2 separate regions of the Homo sapiens genome follow, and region 2 is linked to region 1. Evidence: promoter capture Hi-C in 16 types of primary human blood cells and fetal thymus (Javierre and others, 2016). All regions are on one chromosome and are shown on one strand. Each heading gives the region's core, a stretch centred on a gene start or on the middle of the fragment in contact. The rest is flanking DNA. Distances are from core to core; before and after follow the strand shown.

Region 1 (3,186 bases), core at 412-2,911:
CCTGACTTTTTGCAGCAAGGACAGAATGAAAAGAAATGCGCCAACACATTTAGACTAAGTAAGCAGCAGAGGAGTTTGTTTAAACAGAGGTTGTCAGAGGAAGTTATGGCATCTACTTCTCTGGAGACTTTTTAAAATAGGCCAGGCACTCATCTCTCTGGGATGGTTTCAGCCTGCAGAGTAGCTAGAGGACAGCCCCAGGCCTTTTCAGGTTCCCTTCTCCCTCTACGAGTCTGTAGGCTAAACCATATCCGAGAAGGCCTCTTTGGCAGGGTAAGCTACAGTCACCCAGGCTCATGTCTAACTATGATATTTTCTCACCGCATGGAATGATAATTATAGGAAGGAGGGTGAGGTCGGAAAGATTCCTCAACCACACTCTGTTGGCATTGCCAAAACAGGCACTCCCTCTGCCAGAATTGACTAAATGCAAGAGGGATGCCAGTTAGTACAGGATGATCGTGCTCAGTTGGATTTCATGTGTCCCATTGTCTTACGGTGTGTGGTATGTGTGTGTCTGAAAATAGGGTAAGTAAAATGAATTGGAAAGAAAATTCAGTTAAAAATTAGGAAAACAAATGGGGAAAGAACCTGCATATTGTCTTGAGGTTAGACTCTAACATCAAGCATTCGATCCTAACATTTAGCATTTGATTTGAAAGGTTCCTTTGGGGTCCGAGGCCTATCCTATCCAGGATTGTGGTCCGTTGTGAGCAGATGGGGTTTCCCTCTTAGAAGATGAGCTTGGTTCCAGTTTCCTAGAGCCTTTGGGTAATGGCCGGTTGCTCACAAGAGCTGAGGAGACAGCATAGCTGACAGGCACAGTCAGAGGCAGCTTTAAATATCACGCACCCCATCATTTGGTGGGTGGGTGTGTTGTCGCTAACTGTGCCGCCACTTCAACAAAGAAAGTGGTGAGTTGCCAAAAAACAAGGATGCTCCGTCTTAAGCATTAGGCTGAATTCTTCTTAGAGAAGTGTTTTTTTAATGAAGAATTTTATCCTAAAATATTTTCCAAATTTACTTATCCAACGAAAGTAATTTAAGCATTGTAGCAAGTAACTAGAATCTGCAGAATGAGAACAACTTTCTCTCACAAAAATCAATCTTCTTTATTCATCGAGTGGTCTCAGGTGCCCTGTGTGGGGTGGGGGCTTTCCCAATGCCACAATTATGCAGGCTGCTCAGAGAGACACTGGACCTGGCAACCAACTGCCCAGCTAATTTACAAGCAGGTGACAGGTGGTGAAACTATGATTTTGATATTTTTAAATGGTTCTTTCCTTCCCATAAATGCTGCTTTTTGGAAAGGTCACTTTAGTTTTCTTTAGGAAAATGAGCCTTTTCTCCCTCTCCCAAATGCTAAGTTGATGCCCTTCCCCAGAAGTCTTCCTGTTAATTGAGTTGGCCTGAAGGTCATCAACAATAATCAATATGAAGACTTGCTGCGACGTGCTAATTGACACTCCCAAAGAGGAATAGTGTCAACAATCAATAAAGAGGACAGAGCACTGGTAGATTTATGGCTTTGATTTTGAAAAGGTATAGGAATGCCTGTGATGTTTCCCCACCCCCCAACCCCGTACTCCTTTTGAATGTTAATGCTTTCTTGAAGATGATTTCAGACACACTGCTAGGATACTGCCTCTACTCGCTGAAGCAGAATCCTCTGAAGAGTTGCTGAGGCAGAACTGAAATCATGGCTCACCTCAAAGAAGCAGCAGTATTGGCCGTTAATGATGCCTCACACAGAAAGACGATGCTCCTTTAACTCGGGGTTTTAATGGGAAGTTTCTAAGCCTGAAACAACAGCTTTAGACCTGGGGTGTGCCATCAGCTGCCTTGCAGCTACCACTGTCTACTGCTTTCACACAGCGTGGTCGGGAAGAATGGAAACTAAAGAGGCTTGTAACTACCTGTAACTGTTCCACCAGGAAATGGATCAAGTGTTTGTTCAGCCAGAGCCAGGTACTTGACCCAACCTGTATCTTTGACGGGCTAATTAAATGCTTTTCTCTAACTTTACAATTGATGCATGAGCAATCATCGCATACATGCCTTTCGGATCATAGTTGTGAATTTAGATCTAGCTGTTAGATAAGTCTAATTAAACAATTGCTAGATAAAGTTAAGAAGCGAGGGGGTAAAATGTAATGATGCCTTTATTTTTAAAGCATGGTTAAGTTTATAATGTTATTGATACTGGATGAAGAAGTAGTAAAACAGGCTTTTTTTTCTTTCCTAAGCTGCAGTAATTTATTTCTGAAAGCTGTTTGCCCATTATCGTATTTTTTTTTTCAGTCACCTAAAACGTCCAACCTTCCAAAATGTAACAAGGATGTTCTGATTTGTTTACAAAGGATCACAACTCAACCACTCATATTGACAGCGTTGACTGTCCCTGGCTGATAAGCTGTGTGCAGCACTATCCTTTTGAGATATCAGCAAGTAGCCGTTTTCACTATGAAACACACAAAGAAAGACAAAGAAAACCAGGTGGAACAGTAGGGCTTATTATTTGAAGTTAAAAGTTCCAGTTCGTTAAGGGTGCCTTCTGATACCACCGATTCCTGACTAGGCACCCTCATGGTGTTTTCTGATGTTCTCAGCTAGGCAGTAGCCTTGCCCTGCAGTCCCTTAAAAATTCCTCAAGCAGATATTAAGAGGAAGATGAAGATGGGGAAGAAGTAAAGCTGAGATTGGGGCTGAGGCTGAAGACAAAGGTCTCCTGCTGACCCAGAGCTTAAAAGCAGCAGTGAGTTGAGAATAACAGGGTCCACTCCCAGCCCAAGCAGACGTGTCTGCAGGCTGACTTTGCAGAAACAAGCAGAGAACAGACTTCCCAGTGCAGCAGTGGGGGCTGGCAACAGTTCTGAAACTGCCTGTTGACATCTGTAGCTGAAGACATCCTCATGTTTATGAAATCATTGTTCGTAGGCTTTCTAGTAGACTTGAGTCTATGTTTTGAGAGTATAAAATATATTTACCCTTAGCCCCCCTTTGAATTTTGAAGCATCAGGGCTATTGTATTGGAACAGGAGGGCTGTACTTGGAAAAAAATATAGAGATGTTGCCGTGTATATGAGCCAAAAACAAGGGGAGTGGGAGGATTTAAAATCTATGAAACACCTAGAAAGAGCCAGGAAATCTTTACCTGAAGTTCTTTGCTGGTAAGCAAGAGGGCCA
Region 2 (3,186 bases), core at 267-2,766, 540 kb after region 1:
CCAGATCTCTCATTTGTGAATGAGGAAACTGGAAGATTAAAAGCGATTCATAGTCCCTGAATATAATCTGATTCTTTCCTTCCAAAGATTTTTGTCTAAGCTCATTTAGAGTTTTAGAAAGCATTTTCATTTTCTCATTTGAATATGACTGTAGGTGTGTATATATGCAGGACAGCTATTTCTTTTACTCTTGAGAAAGCAGCTTGGAGCAGTTTAGGGAGTTTTCCAAGGTCATGGGGTAAATCAAGGAAGGATATTGGTCTAGAGCCCAGGTCTTTTATCCCCAGGAATTTCTTTATTATGCATTCACTGCTGGCTGATCCATAAGATAGATGGCTGGGATAGATTGGTCATTTCCAGATTGGTCATTTCCAAATTACTTACACCTGTCCGCCCAGTAAATGTGTGTTCAGGTAAGGCAAATTATAGTTAGAAATATAGGTTGGCTACAGGCTGCCTTTAATAGGTTTGAAACAAAATGTAAATATCCATTTTTTGATTTGTCATCTTCCTTATTCTCAAGCCACTATTCAGGCCAGTTTACTCACTTATTTGGAAAGCTAAAAGAGAATTTGAAGGCAACTATGTATGTGACATTTTCTAATATCAGACCATCCAACAGTTTTTAAAACAGGAACATCATTCACCTTTGAGCCAGCAGGCTTTTGTTGTTCACTCACCAGGAAGAAAAGATAAATCCATTTGATATGCTTCCCTCTTTATGTTTATGTACCTATAGGAAGTTTGTAGGTCCAGAGGAAATAGATGGTAGTTTAATGTTTAACTTTTGGGGAAAAGATGGTACAAGTTCTAGGATATGCTCAATAGAAAGTACTATTTAGTTTCTCTAGTTCAGATAATAAATACAACATGTTGGTGGGTTAACCAACTTGACATATTTTTTTTGGTAGTAGTCGAATACCTAAGGATCTAAGTCTCATTGTCCTGTATGGAATCTGGTGGCAATGGTGATGGACCTGTTTTACCTATATGATGGGCATTTAACATGGTCTGTTAAATGATAGCATTAAGAACCTCAGCCCATTTTTTTCCCTCCTTAAATCTACCTTTTAATTTTTTCTTAGACAAGGTAAAAGTTTGAAACTATTAGGGAAAATGTGAATGCCTCTGCATTTGTCCCCTCCTGCTGTGCAGCCTTCCTTGTGGCTGCTGTCCTCACAGATCAGGAACTCATTCCCCAAAATGATAGTGTATTGGTAACACATATCCTTTGTTCCACGATTCTAGGATATGAATACAAACTACCAGTGTATTCTACCCAAAGCTACAAATGAAAATAAGCTTACTTTTTTGATCCACAAAACAGGATCAGGATCCATTGGTATTGAATGCCAAAATCTGACTCAATACTTGTCAGAATTTTGTTAGAATACTACCGAAGCTTTTGAGGTAGAGAATTGTGGAGGTTTCATCCTGGAAGAGTTAACTTCGTCTTAAGAAAGCAAGCAATTTATAGGGTGACTTTATATCCAGCTATTATATCTCTAAGATATACTAAAAAAGACAGTTTTAAAATTAAGTAGGCACTGTTCATATTTATTTATATAAGGTACATATAAAGGTGTATAACTACTAAAAGATACTACATTTGCTCTTTTACATTCTAAATTAAGCTTCAGTTGAGCCATTTTTTCAAGGAAGTCACAATTTGAAAAGGAGCAATCTATAGGCATGCATTTGGATAACCAGAAAGTCACAGATTATTTTTAAGTTTACAACATTTTTGCTTAAGCCATGAAAACTATCCTCTGAGTTCCTAAGAAATGTTACTATTTAAGAAATTTAGAAGATGACAAGGACAGTTTGGGAAGGAGGTGGCTGGTGACAGTGAGATGAAAAATTATGCTCCAAGAAAAGGTTTATGAATTGCAAAATATGTGCCTTTAAGTCTTAGTGTCATATTTCCTTTTGGGAAATAGTGAACTGTGAAGAAGTTAGTTTTTTTCTGAATTTTTAAATCTGTTGACACAACCAGCACCTTCTGTTAGCTACACGGTGCCAGTCTCAGAGCTATAATAATCTACATCTTTCAGGTAGTCTGTTTTCTCTGTGGTCTTTCCATCAGTAAAGACTATCCATTGCTTACTGTCCATGCCCTTGTGAGTTTAGTAGTATTAACATAAATTTCGCACTTGGGTTTTTTCAGAAAATTGGTAAGGAAGCACAGGTATATTTTGTATTGAAACATTGATTAGAACAGTGGTTCCCAAACTTTAGTGTGCCTCAGAATCAATGGCAGGGCTTGTTAACACATACTTTAGTCCTGCCACATAATCTCTAAGTGAAATTCTTCACGTAGGCTACTTCTCAATATAACCTCCCTTCTTTACACTTCCTTTTGTCCTTTCTTTCATGGTATACATGTAACTTCCATCTCCCCTTAACACCAGCTGTGAATTCAAATGATTATCTCCTTTCCAAATTGCTCAGTGTTTCCCTTTTATATTAGGTCTTTGTCAGTGGCAAGAACAGAACCCAAAGGTGGGTAACAGAAAAAGGAAGCCATAGAAGGCAGCTGAGCTTAGGGACTTCAGTGAGTGTAAGCAGGGACTTGGAACGGGGTCCTTAGGGCTCATCTTTCCTTCTCTGGTTTGCCTTTCTAAGCGTGACAGTTCTTCACATAGACTGTCATCATGTAGTGTGCTCTGTGGCTTCTGAGAAAACCATACTCAGTCCTGGTGGCTTAACAACAGCTGCAGTAAAAAGGTGGTGTCTCCTCATAAGCTTTGGCAGAAAAGACTAGGGAAGGGTCCCAATGGGCTCAGTTTGGGAAATGTGATCCCCCCAATTCAGCCATGCCATTGATTAGACATGAATCTTGTGCCCACTTGACTTGAAGTAGATTCTCCATTTAAAACAGATTTTATTATTGAAAAAAAAGGAGGCCAGGCATGGTGGCTCACGCCTGTAATCTCACTATGTGAGGCTGAGGCGGGAGTATCGGTGGAACCAGGATTTCAATACTGGCCTTGGCAACATAGTGAGATCCTGTATCTACAAAAAAATAATTAACCCGGGCATGGTGGTACATTCCTGTAGACCCAGCCACTCAGGAGGTGGATCACTTGAGCCCAGGAATTCAAGGCTGCAATGAGCTATGATTCTGCCACCACACTCAAGCCTAGGCAACAGTGAGAACACGTCTCTAAAAAAATTAAAGGGAGG

What was found. Contacts are between HindIII fragments. The CHiCAGO score rates a contact against its expected background, and 5 or more counts as called.
Region 2: a fragment that was not itself captured here is called in contact with the fragment with the promoter of CTXN3 in region 1 in 1 of 17 cell types (M2 macrophages); the score reaches 5.1 in M2 macrophages.

The regions. Positions count from the first base shown.
Region 1 is chr5:127,647,421-127,650,606 of GRCh38, forward strand. It overlaps CTXN3 (cortexin 3), which reads left to right and starts at 1,662. Exons shown (of 3, transcript NM_001048252.3): 1 at 1,662-1,968. The HindIII fragment of the contact is 10,433 bases long and covers 1-3,186 here.
Region 2 is chr5:128,189,944-128,193,129 of GRCh38, forward strand. No RefSeq gene overlaps it. Among named protein-coding and RNA genes, the nearest start is that of SLC12A2, 110 kb to the left of the region's middle. The HindIII fragment of the contact is 232 bases long and covers 1,401-1,632 here.